Linked DNA regions of Homo sapiens: region 2 is linked to region 1. Evidence: promoter capture Hi-C in 16 types of primary human blood cells and fetal thymus (Javierre and others, 2016). All regions are on one chromosome and are shown on one strand. Each heading gives the region's core, a stretch centred on a gene start or on the middle of the fragment in contact. The rest is flanking DNA. Distances are from core to core; before and after follow the strand shown. Region 1 holds the start of CCDC116 (coiled-coil domain containing 116). Region 2 overlaps PPM1F (protein phosphatase, Mg2+/Mn2+ dependent 1F).

Evidence for each region. The method cuts DNA at HindIII sites, captures the fragments that hold promoters and counts their contacts. A CHiCAGO score of 5 or more calls a contact.
Region 2: a contact is called between a fragment that was not itself captured here and the fragment with the promoter of CCDC116 in region 1, in 2 of 17 cell types (neutrophils and erythroblasts). The highest score is 6.4, in neutrophils.

Annotation. Positions count from the first base shown.
Region 1 is chr22:21,630,290-21,636,404 of GRCh38, reverse strand. It overlaps CCDC116 (coiled-coil domain containing 116), which reads right to left and starts at 3,645. Exons shown (of 5, transcript NM_152612.3): 1 at 3,578-3,645; 2 at 3,152-3,285; 3 at 1,835-2,383; 4 at 1,139-1,720. The coding sequence starts at 3,223. RefSeq lists an enhancer at 3,414-3,913. The HindIII fragment of the contact is 2,744 bases long and covers 2,626-5,369 here.
Region 2 is chr22:21,942,026-21,948,140 of GRCh38, reverse strand. It overlaps PPM1F (protein phosphatase, Mg2+/Mn2+ dependent 1F), which reads left to right. Exons shown (of 8, transcript NM_014634.4): 2 at 2,033-2,298. The coding sequence starts at 2,093. It overlaps PPM1F-AS1 (PPM1F antisense RNA 1), which reads right to left. Exons shown (of 2, transcript NR_147620.1): 2 at 4,707-6,115. Among named protein-coding and RNA genes, the nearest start is that of PPM1F-AS1, 6.8 kb to the right of the region's middle. RefSeq lists an enhancer at 3,707-4,206. The HindIII fragment of the contact is 7,682 bases long and covers 1-6,115 here.

The sequences.
Region 1 (6,115 bases), core at 2,396-4,895:
ACACATGTCACACCTGCCAGCCCCATCCCTCTGTGACACCCCTTCCAGCCACTGTGCCCTCCTCAGAGCCCTGCCAGCCCTGCCCATCACAAACATGAATGGGTACCCTTAGTGTGACAAACACATTTGCCACACGAAGGGTACAGCCTTACCACACCTGCTATGCTGTTGCACTCAACTGCCCACTCTCATGCTCACCTCGCCATCACACCTCCTACAACTGTTGGGCCTGGGGCAAGGGCAGGGACCTGTCACAGGGTAAGGCTAATCTGAGCCTTGACAACTGGGTTTGGGCAGGCTCCTGCCCAGGCCTGTGCCCAGAGACAGCTGCAGGGGCCTTGATGGCTGAGGAAAGGGTCGAGGGACCGTGCTGGAGACCCACCAGTGTGAGGCCACCTACGTCTTGTACACATCCTCCCTGGGCAACTTCCCCTCAGCAAAGTCCAGGGACTGGAGAGTCCTGCTCGAGGCAGCTGGATTCAAGGGAGCTAGACCTAGGAGGCAAGGCCCCGGCTGGGCTTGGGCTGCTGTCCACAAGGGACGGGACTTTCCACCCCCATGTAGGAGCGTCTCTAGATTCACATACAAACGTTAGAAAAAATACCCAGCATAAAAAATAGCCTTTATTTATCTGTGACAACACCTGGTAATAGCTAGGCCAGGATTCATGGGCCCCCATCAGCTTGACCCCTGCCCAGGAGGTTTCCACAGTGCAGGGCAAGAGACCTTGACCTTGAGCACCTGTTAGTGACAGTGGCTGCTAGGAGTGGTGGGTCAAGGAGCCCTTCTCCTGCAAACTCATGCCCGGTCCTACTTTTGAGGAGGTCACCTCTGGACACAGTGAGGCGGGAGATGAAGAGGCAACTGGAGAGAGCTCAGGGAGAAGGTAGCAGGAAGAGCGGGGGTAGGGGGAGGAAAGTGGAGGTGTGACAGGGCCCCTGAGGTGGCCCTGGCTGCAGGCCACCTCCACCACAATCCCTGGCGTGGGCAGGGTGAGGTGCAGGCCCTGCCAGGGCTGGGCCCTCTGGCTGGAGCTCAGGGAAACAGGTGGGTTTTGTAATTTGGGATCTGAGTCAGGTGCCTCCTCCCTGGAGTGGAGTGAGGGGCTGGGGACATTGGGCTTCTCCGTGGGTGTCACCTTGAGTTTGAATCTGGTGGCCACCTGGGCACTAGACATGGAGGGGGAGCCTCCTCTGTCCTTGCGTTTTCTCTGAAGCATCTTGGGGCTGGAGACTGTGGGGCGGGGGGAAGCATAGGGCTGCCCGCCATTGGTGGGTTTAGCTGGCTCAGAGCCCAGAGGCGGCAGATCTGAGGTGGGCTCCAAGCTGGTGGGGAACAGAGGACGGCCGTCGCGGCAGTGGGCGCCACGGAGCTTATCCACAGCCTGGCTGACCACGCTTTGCAGGGCAGGGAAGAGGCGGTGGTCAGCCAGGAAGTTCAGCGTGCGATGGGGCTCACGGAGCGGACAGTAGCCAGGCAGGTCGAGGGACTCCAGCTGGCTCAGTAATGACTTGATCTCCTTATTGAACTCTCGCTTGCGGAAGATTGGCTCCTGTTCTCCAGGCCTCGGCTCTGATGCTTCAGGCACGCCAGAGCTTGAGCCCAGCAGCCCTGAGAACCAGGACAAGGGCTGCTCCTGTGTCCACTGAAAGCTGGTCTGGCTACCCAGCGAATCCCACAGCAGGGAGTCCCTCTGGGAGCAGGACTGACTGAGGCCTTTCTGCAGAAAGAGGGTGACTCTGTGAAGTGTTCAGGAGCAGCCAAGCCAGGGCTGACCCTAGCCCTGGGCTCTCCATGGGAGTCCACCCCACCCAGCCATGGCCCTGGCTCTCACCCCTTCCCTCTCCAGCTGTAGCAGCCGCTTGAGGTTCTTCTCCAGCAGGAGTTTGTCCCTCACAGGTGGCAATGAGCCTTGGGCACCTAGGTCACTGTCCCGGCTGTGGGAGCCCAGACAGCCGGCCATGAGGCTGCTATGGCAGTTGGACATGGAGCTGGAGCTGGATGGGTAGTTGTTGGGGTGTCCAGTGCAGAGGGTCGGCCGTACACGGTGCCGGTGTACGGTGCTGAGGCTGGGCCGGGCATGTGCCCGCCGTCCACCACTTGGCACCTCCACTGGGTCCTGCACCTCCACAAGCGGCACCCCAGCCTCCGTCTTCATGGCAGCCATGCGCTCAGTCGCCTTCTCCACCACTGTCTCCAGGCTGTCCAGGACCTGGCTCTCAGTTAGGAAATCCAGAAAGTGGCCAAAGGGCTGAGGGTGCCTCTTGTTTCGGCGTTGGCCCTGGAGTGCTGAGCTGCCACATGTGGATGGTGGGTGTGGCACACGGCCCGGCTTGCAGGCTGGCCGCATTTCTGGGACCAGTGGCTTCTTGGGCAGCTGCACCTGAGCAGACAGGTATGTCACAGGGGGCAGGGGTGCCCTACAGGTGAAGGGTTCCCTGGGGTAACACTAGGACCTGGGTGGGAGTGAGTAGTGGAAGGAGCTGCATTTTGGAGTCTGGAAGCCCTGGGTTTGGACCCTGGCTCTGCCACCTACAGCCTGATGCCAGTGTGCAAGATGGCCCCTCTTGAGGTCCAATGTCCTCATCTGCAAAGTGGAGGTCTATTCAGGGTCACCCCGAAGCTTTCCTAACACCTACATTTCACACACACAAGTCCTGGCTAAGGAGTCTGCAAGCCTGCTTCTGCCCTGACACGTGGCAGGATGAGCAATCATGAATCTCTCGGAGTCTCCCTCCAGCTCCTCATCTGTCCATGCAGCAGGCCATCCCTGTATCCATGGCAGGGCTGCAAACAACATCTGAGGTCTTGAGTGCAGACAACACCTGAGGTCTTGAGCCCTGTGCTACCCGGGCCTGTTTCTCCAACTTGAGCCATAGGCACCTAGTCAACTCCATGCTCCCACTCTAGGGTCCCAGTCCACCCAAGCACCTTCTGGGTCGCTGGAAGTCAGGAGGAAACAAGGAATGAAATTGAGTGTGACAGGGGCAAGCAGTGGGGGACATAGGAGAAGTCAAGGCAATAAGGACTTCACTAAGAGGCCCAGAGAAGTCAATAGACAATGAGAAATGGGGGTTGTGGTCTTGGGTGCCAGGGTTGGTGGGGAACATGTTGTGGCCTCAAGGGTCGGCGCCCTGCTGGGCACACTTACCCGTGCACTGCACATGGAGTGGCTGGCCTCGTCATCGGCCAGGTAACCCGAGTGGTGGCGGCACCTGGCCATGTGGTCACCTGGCAGGTGACCGGGCCTGCTGCCCACCTCTCTCTTCAGCTGCGCATTCCTCTCTGCGTGGGGTGGGGAGACAACCTGAGGGTCTCCAATAGGTCCACGCATCTGTGGCCCTGGAGTCTGCGGGTCCCTCGCTCCCCGCACCCCGCCTCCTTCATGCATCCAGCCCTTCCTCTGCTCCATGGCCCCCATGCGTCTGCAGGCAGGCAGTTTCCAGAGTCATCGGGGTGGAATCGCTGAGGACAATCCTGTCTCCGATCATCTTTGGATCTGCGTGTGCTCGACCCGCCCTCCTCCCAAACCCTGGGCAACCTGGCTTTCACCCCAGCCCAGAATCAACAGACTCACCAGAAACACCGCCTTGCTCCGCACAGGCCAGTACAGTCTGCGCCCTCACTGGAGCAGCTGCACAGTGCGAGGAAGTCGGCTGGCGGCCTCCACTTGCTTATTTGCATACCACATCCTCATTGGTTCTTACCGAGGAGCTCGTCCACTTCCCTCTCCGACACAATGGTTGGGGGCGGGGCCCACATTGGCCCCACCTCCAATTCTCTGGGCTCTGCCCTCCCACACTCGCCTGGGAGCCGCAGGCTGAGGATGCTGGTGCCCACGCTCCCCGCTGCCGGGAGGACCCCCCACCCACCACCGAAGCTGGGGCTAGGCTCTTTGATCTGCTCCTGCCCCGAGGGGAGCCTAAAAGCCAAAGCCACGTCTTCCACCGGTGGCACAAGCACCTTCCTCGTGTCCTCCTTGGTTGCTGCGCAGCCCTGGGCCTCCTGCTCCTGTTCGTTTCCAGGGGCCTCTGCCCTTCCCGCGGTGTGCACAGCCCCAGGTTCTGCCTTGAGACCTCTCCCCTCTGCAGTGGAAAGAGTGCCGGCTCTAAGTCACAGACCTAGCTTCAGTTCCTGGCTCTGCTCTTTCCTGCCAATGTGACTCAACCTCTCAGCATTAGTCCCACACTGTAAATGGGCTTGAGTGTTCTTCCAATATGGGAGTATGGGATTCAATAAAATCTCCCTACAGCACACCCAGTAACCCAGTGGAGCCTTGTGTATTCTTTAATTAATTAATTTATTTATTTGGAGACGGGAGTCTCGCTCAGTCGCCCAGGCTGGAGTGCAGTGGCGCAATCTCGGCTGACTGCAAGCTCCGCCTCCCGTGTTCACGCCATTCTCCTGCCTCAGCCTCCCGAGCAGCTGGGATTACAGGGGCCCGCCACCACGCCCGGCTAATTTTTTTGTAGTTTTAGTAGAGATGGGGTTTCACCGTGTTAGCTAGGATGGTCTCGATTCCCTGATCTTGTGATCCGCCTGCCTTGGCCTCCCAAAGTGCTGGGATTACAGACCTGAGCCACCGCGCCCAGCGGAGCCTTGTATATTCTTACCTCCTCTCCCTCCCTCCTTTTCCCCTTTGCTCAGTAATACCCCACCATGGTGTCACTTCTTCCAAAAACCTTTTACTGTGAATTCTGCCACGCCCTACGCAATTCACAGTAAACCCCATTCCAGACTCTACCATACCATGTTGCTACTTATTTTTCTATCAGATGGTGCTTCTTTGGGGCCAGAACAGAGGCAAGTCACCCTTAATCTCTAATACTTTCAGTGTCTGGCACCAAGTAGGTGCTCAATAAATGTCAGTCTCCTCCTTCCCACCTGCAGACCCTCGGGACCTCTGACCTTTCCAAGATCAGCTTCCAGTGGAGAACGGTGGTTGGTTGAGGTCTGACAATTCACCAGTCACTATAAACACATCAGTCCTTATGCCAAGAGCATGGCTGAAGGACTCTATGAGGCTTTCAATCCTCACATGCCTCACGAAATATTGTTCCTCTCAAGCTCTGCTCTGTCCTCTCAGCTCTGGCTACCCACTAGGTCAGGGACAGAGAGGACATAGCAGGCCTGGGTGCTGGCCCCGAGGTGTGAGGTTCAGTCTTAGCTCCACTACTCCTGGCAGGACCACACTTTCGCTCTCTGAACCCCAGTTTCCTCATCTGTGAAACAGGAATGACATTACCAATTTCATAGCCCGGACACAAATACCACACTTTCCATGGGAAAAATCAAGACTGTCACATTGCAATGGAAACTGTGGCTGCCAACCATAATGACTATTTATACAGTCATGGGTAAGGAAAGCTTTTCTGGACCAAAGAGAAAACAGTGAAGTTATGAATGTAAAAGCTGTAGCCTGGCAGAGAGCTCAAGATGGAAACTGGAGATAATGTTTTCTCAAATGAAGCCTTAGTGTATATGCTTTCTTTCATTTTCTTAGTGTCTAGAGCTCAAGAAAAAAAAAAAATCAACAAATCAAGAAAATGCCTGCTCTTAGAAAAATCTGCAAAAGATCAATAGGCAATTTGAAAAAGAATAAAAATAGCTAATAATATGAAAATTTTCATTCGCACTGCTAAGAAACTACTAGAATGTGATAACATTGATATAATCATCTTTATGTTCTCAAAACAACACACAAAAAAGTTGGGTTGGGGAGAAAGGGAGTTGGGTGTGTTTATTTGCTTAGAGAAAACACTGGAAGGACACAACCCAGAAAGTTTACAATGGCAATCTCTGGGAAGGGTAGGAGATTCTTTTTTTTTTTTTTTTTTTTTTTTGAGACGGAGTCTCGCTCTATCGCCCAGGCTAGAGTGCAGTGGTGCGATCTCGGCTCACCACAACCTCCGCCTCCCGGGTTCAAGCCACGCTCCTGCCTCAGCCTCCCGAGTAGCTGGGATTACAGGCGCGTGCCACCACTCCCGGCTAATTTTTGTATTTTTAATAGAGACGGGGTTTCCCCATGTTGGCCAGGCTGGCCTTGAACTCCTGACCTCGTGATCCACCCGCCTCGGCCTCCCAAAGTGTTGGGATTACAGGCGTGAGCCACTGC
Region 2 (6,115 bases), core at 2,192-4,691, 310 kb before region 1:
CATTAAATTTACTCCTACTTGTGAGTAAATGTGAACCATAGCAATAAATTTAGTCTATCCCCAGAACCTTCAGTAGCAAGCACCCCTATTCCTACGTTATTTGTATGTGTCCACTTTAAATAAATTACCTTTCAATTCTGCCTCTAAAAGAAGAGAAGGGTTTTGTGTTTTGTTAATTTACCACCCTTCACCCCTTGCATTCCAAATCCCTCACTGATCAGACATTTAACTTGGTGCTGGGACCTTTCCCTCTGCCCACCCCATTCTCTTTTGTGTTTTTTATCTTTAGGCTTCCAGAAGGCTTGTTCCAAGTTAGCAATTCCTGATAAGGACAGCCCTCTTGTGGGCTGTGAGCTCCCTGCATCTCTTACTTCCCACTCTCTTCATCCTGCACCTCAGGCCCCTGCCACAGCCGCCCTTTTAGCAAAGTTTGTAGGCAGAGTCTGTGGCTATTCTAAGACTGATGATTCTAGAAGATTCTCCTTGCCTTCTTCGTTCAGTTTTCAGAACCTGGAAGTCCTCATGAAGGTGATGGGCTGTGAAACTGTTCCCCAAATTCTCCACCCTAGAACTCGGGGTGTTCCTCAGAGTCTCATGTCCGTTTGTCACCATAAAAGAATGCAGTTTTTCTCCCTGGCTTAGTAACTGTGTAGGATTTCTTTTTTATTTTTTTCTGGATCCAATCTCATCCACTACTGCGTAGGACTCGCTGAATAAAGTTTCCCAGCCTGAGTGTTAGACAAAGCCCAAGGTGGAGTCCCCGCTGTGGGGAGGGTTTGGAGGGGTCAGGCACCCGAGAGGAAGGGGGCAGGAGAGAGAAGGGTCCATGCTGAGTGGGTGCTGGCAGGGAGGCCCAGGTGTGGGGCCTGGAGGTGAATCCCCGGGGCGACGCAAAGAACATGGAAGGGGGGGCGCTGGAGAGCTGTTTGGGTATAGGCAAGGCAGGCAGGCTGGGGAGGCGACTATGGAGATTCGGAGTTAGGAGAGAAGAGGAGCCAGAGCCACCCTGGGAGGAGGCTGTGAGGCACCATGTGCCTCTTTCCAGTGAGAGAGAAGCCGGTGAGGGAGTGAAGGCACAGGCTTTGCGATCCCTCTTTGGCCCTGTCTTCCTTCTGACACCTCAGGCGAGGGACTAACCCTCTCCAAACCTTGGGATTCTCATCTGTGAAATGGGGGCTTGTCCTGGCTCCTGGGGTGTTAGGGGCAACTCCCAGGGCTGGTCAGCTCTGGTCATCCCTAAGGACTTAGGGAGGAAGAGCCCACATGCCGCACAGTGGGGTCAGCGCCTGGAACTGTCCACAGTGCCCCTCTTCCAGCCAGGGCTTAGCAGGCCTGAGCCATTCTAGGCTCACAATTCCCTCCTCCTATTAGAGAGCATTGAATAGGCTCGATGGTGTCCCACAGCACCTCCTGTCTGTCCCAGATTAAACCTCTGCTTCTCTCCTGGCCACCCCTTGGGTGGCCCCAGCAGCCTCTGGGGATCCCTTCCTGCTCCCACTCTGGCCTATCTCCAAAACAGCCCTGGGCCGGCCTCCCGCATCTTGGCCCTTCTCTTTCCTCCCCTGAACACCACTAGAGCCCCAACAGGTGTCCCTCCTGCCATCTGGTCACCACGTCCAGGCTCACAGACCTGGTGGCTTCACTCCCTCACCTCAGAGCCCTCCTGGCTGCTCGGGACCCGTGATCAGGTTGAACCCCCTCACCTACCTCAGTGCCTGGCCTCGGCATCCCTGTCCTGCTCGTCTCTGGCCACGCTGGCCACCCTCTGCCAGGAACAGTCTTCCTCCTCTGTCACTTCTTGACAATGTCCACCCAGCTGCTGCTCCTGGCACCATCTCCTGAGACCGGATCTCTGGATGCCCACAAGTCCCCACCTGGACTCATGTCAAAACAGTGGCCAGGGTTGTCCCTCCACCCTCTAGTGGCCCTGAACCATGAGGCCATGCACCTGCCACATGGTGCTTGCAGGTGGGCACCTGCATTGCTGGTGCCATGGCCCCCTGATTCTGCTGACTCTGACATTTCTCCCCAGGGTGAAGCCTGGAGACCCTCTTGCCCTGGCCTAGCTGCAGGCCCCCGGGATGCTTTGGGCATGTCCTCTGGAGCCCCACAGAAGAGCAGCCCAATGGCCAGTGGAGCTGAGGAGACCCCAGGCTTCCTGGACACGCTCCTGCAAGACTTCCCAGCCCTGCTGAACCCAGAGGACCCTCTGCCATGGAAGGCCCCAGGGACGGTGCTCAGCCAGGAGGAGGTGGAGGGCGAGCTGGCTGAGCTGGCCATGGGCTTTCTGGGCAGCAGGTAGGCCTGTGCACCCCCAAAGGGGACGGGGAGTAAGGGCACGGCACCAGGGCCGACAAGGGATGTGGCTGCTGCTCCCCTACACGTCCAGCCCCACACGGGGATCTGCAGCCCCGGATCCCTATGCAGCACCATGTGGAACTCCCGTGGCTGCTATGGCAAAGCACCACACACTGGGCACTCAACACAGCCAAAGCTCATTCTTTCACAGGGCTGGAGGCCAGAGTCCAAGATCAAGGTGGCAGCTGCGCCATGCTCTCTCAAAGGCTGCAGGGAAGAGTCTGCCTTTCTGTTAGTGCCTGGCCTTGACTTCCTGGAGGTCCTTGGCTTGTAGACTCATTCCTCCTAGCTGGCCTTGTTGCACACGGCATCTCCCCATGTGTGTGTCTGTGCCTTCACACCTCCCCACCCTGCCTGCTGTGTGTCTGTGACTCCTCCTCTTGTAAGGACATGGGCATTTTGGACCAGGGGCTGCCCTCCTACAGTGTGATCTCATCTTTCTTTTTGTGGAGAATGGGGTCTCGCTATGCTGCCCAGGCTGGTCTCGAATTTCTGGGCTCCATGGATCCTCATGTTTTTGCCTCCCTAAATGCTGGGATTACAGGCATGAGCCACTCCAGCCAATGTGACCTCATGTGAACATAACTAATTACATTTGCAAAGACTTTAACTCCAAATAAGATCATATTCTGAGCCACAGGGGGCTGGGGCTTCAACATACCTTTTAGGGAACACAATTTATTGCATAGCAGCTGATAAGCAGTACGTCCTGTTTCCGATCCGTGTGATGGACGAGGAGGCAGAGGTGGGTAGATGAAGAGGCTGGCCTGAGGCCTTACAGTCAAGGAGTGGCAGAGCCACATGGCACCCCAGCCACCACGATCTGAGAGATAGCTGGCACTGTCCCCCTTCCACAGGTGAGGAAGCTGAGGCACAGAGAGGTAGCACAACTAGCCGAGCAGATTTCGGGGAAGATAGAGAGTTGGGTGTCCACCGGCAGACAGTGTGTAGCTGTCGCCTAGGCTGAACTCAGAGGTCCTTTCCTTGGAAGACCCTTGCCCTCCCCTTCATTTATTCATTCATTCTGGAAGCATTTGTCCCATGAAAGATGGTGAAGGACAAGGTCTTTTCTCGAACCCTCTCTGCTCAGACAGGGTCTTGGAGTTAGGCTGTCTGTCTGGCACAGGGGACAGCTCATGGAGGTGAGCAGGCTGGTGGGCCGCGTGCTGTTTCTGTGAACCTAGTCCCTTGCTGAGGGGATGTGCGCATGGTCCCCAGTCCCAGCATCACCCAAATCACCTGAAATATCACCTGAAGCCATGACAGGCCCTCAGCCATAGCTCCCTCTGACAGAGCCACCATCCTCGGTGGCTGCCTCAGTATCCCCCAAGTGTGCACTTCCTTTGCCCCTTGCAGCGAATCAACTCTGTTCCTGACACCCACCAAGGGCCTATTTTCCTTGACCCCAGGCCCTAGCAGAGTCAGTGACTTGTGCTCTCCCTGTGCAACATGGGCACAAACATTGCTAAGTGTCAGCCACATGCAAGGGCTATGCCACCCAGCATCCCCCACAGCTGCCTAGAGCTCAGGAGGAAATGTCCGGTGACCACGCTCCATGAGGTCATGGCATGCGCAAAGGGTGTTATTGGCTTGTTTTGAGGAAATATTTTAGATATGTGGCACAAAGTGAATCAGCCCCCAGTGGTGGAGCAGAGTGGGCCCAGCAGGGGTGCCAATGCACGGGAGGTGAGGAAAGGCCTCACGTTCTGCCTTCTTGAGAGGAGCAGGTGGCACTCTGCAGGGAGCAGGGGAGTCCAGACCAGGGAGTTCTGCAGCCACTGGGTCTTCGTGGAGGTGGCATGGGGCCATTGCTGCCTTGAGGCAAAAAGCCAGGCCCGGGACAGAAGGGTTGGTGCACTTTGGCCCAAGCATGAGGTGACCGGGCAAAGCCAAGCGGTGCCAGCCCCAAGCTGGGGATCAGATGGAAAAGCCATCCCGGGGAACAACAGAGCCCAGGGGTTTGCTGGGCCTGCGTGGGGCACAGGTGCTGAAGACGGACAGGCCGCAGCACCGGGGTGACAACATCAGCCTTCAGTTCCTGGGCAGGGGGAGAAGGGCGCAGAGCAGGGTCCCAGGGAAGGATCCAAGGTGGGAGGGCCTGGAGGGCTGAGGAGTGAGTAGGCAGTGCAGGTGACCTGCCCAGGAGGGCCCCGAACCAAAGTGTTGGGGTCAGTGCTGGGGGCGCAGGGGAGGGCAGTGGGTTTTGGTTTTGATGCGAGAGCAGCCAGACTTGTTGAGCGGCTGCTGTGTGAGCCACCTAGTGATGGGTGCGAGCAGGAGGGGTGCAGAGCTCCCGAGTCTCCTCAGCCCCCAGGAACCCACCTTACATGGTGAACTAAAATGGAGTATTTGAAGTTGTTATATGTTCCAGCCATCTTATTGGATTTATTTTTTAAGTTATTTTTGTTCTTTTCTAGCATCTTCTTTCACACGCAGGTGTGGATGTGCATAGGTGTAGTCAGCACTTGGGGTCTGAGCCTCACACGTTGTCTACACTAAGCCTGGCTGTCCACACACACGCACTCACATGTGCCCATACACAGTCACGAGTTCCACCTCCGAGCTCTGCTTCCCGTGTCCCAGCCTGAGGAGGGGCTCTTGGGCATGAAGGGCTTTGAGCATCTTGGTCCCTGAGCTCTTTCACAGACCGTAAAAGGCATCCTTCTGGAGGCCATCCAGGAGTCAGAACATCCAGTCCACAGGGGGCTATTTACGCCTTGTCTCCGCTCTTGTTTGGAGCCTCCTGTCACATATTTGAGTCCCTGAGCAGTGCATACCGTACACTAATGATTTGAGTGTGGTTTTTGTCTCTGCCACTAGACTATAAGCCTCTTGTAACAGCCCCTGCCCCAAGGTCGGTGAGACGTGTTTCTCAGGCACCTGGGCCTTGCATACACCTTGGCTTGTCCCTGGAGCATCTTCTTGCCTTGTGTAGGAGCCTGCTCTGCAGGGACCAGAATCAGGGTGGATCTGCATGGTGCAGTGACTCAGGGCTGAGGGCCTCTAGGGCGTGTCCCAGGCCAGACCCTGGGATGAGGCGGGAGCTGTGTCCAGGAAGAGGACGATGGTGGCCCTTGGCCAGGCATTGTCTGGGTCCCCACAGCCGGAAACTGCCTCCCTGCCCCAGCAGCAGTGGCGGGTGGGCAGGAAGCTGAGGCCTGGCCTCACCGGGACCAAGGGAAACAGGCGTCCTTCCTCCCTGCTGTGCAAAAGGAAAACCCAGCAGTTGGCAGGAAACCCCCAAATGGCAGAGGAACTAATTTCTCATGTCTTGGCTGGTTGTTTTTCAAAGGCAGTTCCAGAGGCTTCTCCCATGAGTCACCCTTTCATTTTAAAAATCACGAATCTGCTGAGCATGGTGGCTCATGCCTGTAATCCCAGCTACTCAGGAGGCTGAGGCAGGAGAATCACTTGAACCCGAGAGGTGGAGGTTGTGGTGAGCTGAGATCACGCCATTGCACTCCAGCCTGGGCAACTAGAGCGAAACTCCGTCTCAGAAAAAAAAAAAAAAAAATCAGGAATCCATCCCGGTAGATTCCTCAGACCATCAGTAGATACCTTGGGTGCCCAGCCCCCATGGAACAAGACCTGTCAGCCTGTGCTGTTGGAAGGTCCTCGCCTTCCAGTTAAAGCCGGGAGTGTCGGCCCAGTGCAGAATCACCTCGCCACCCCAGGCATGCTCCCCTGACCCCCACTCTCAGGGACAGGCACACAGGGGTGAATGTGTGTTGTCCAGCTTCCAGGGCCCCCACTGGGT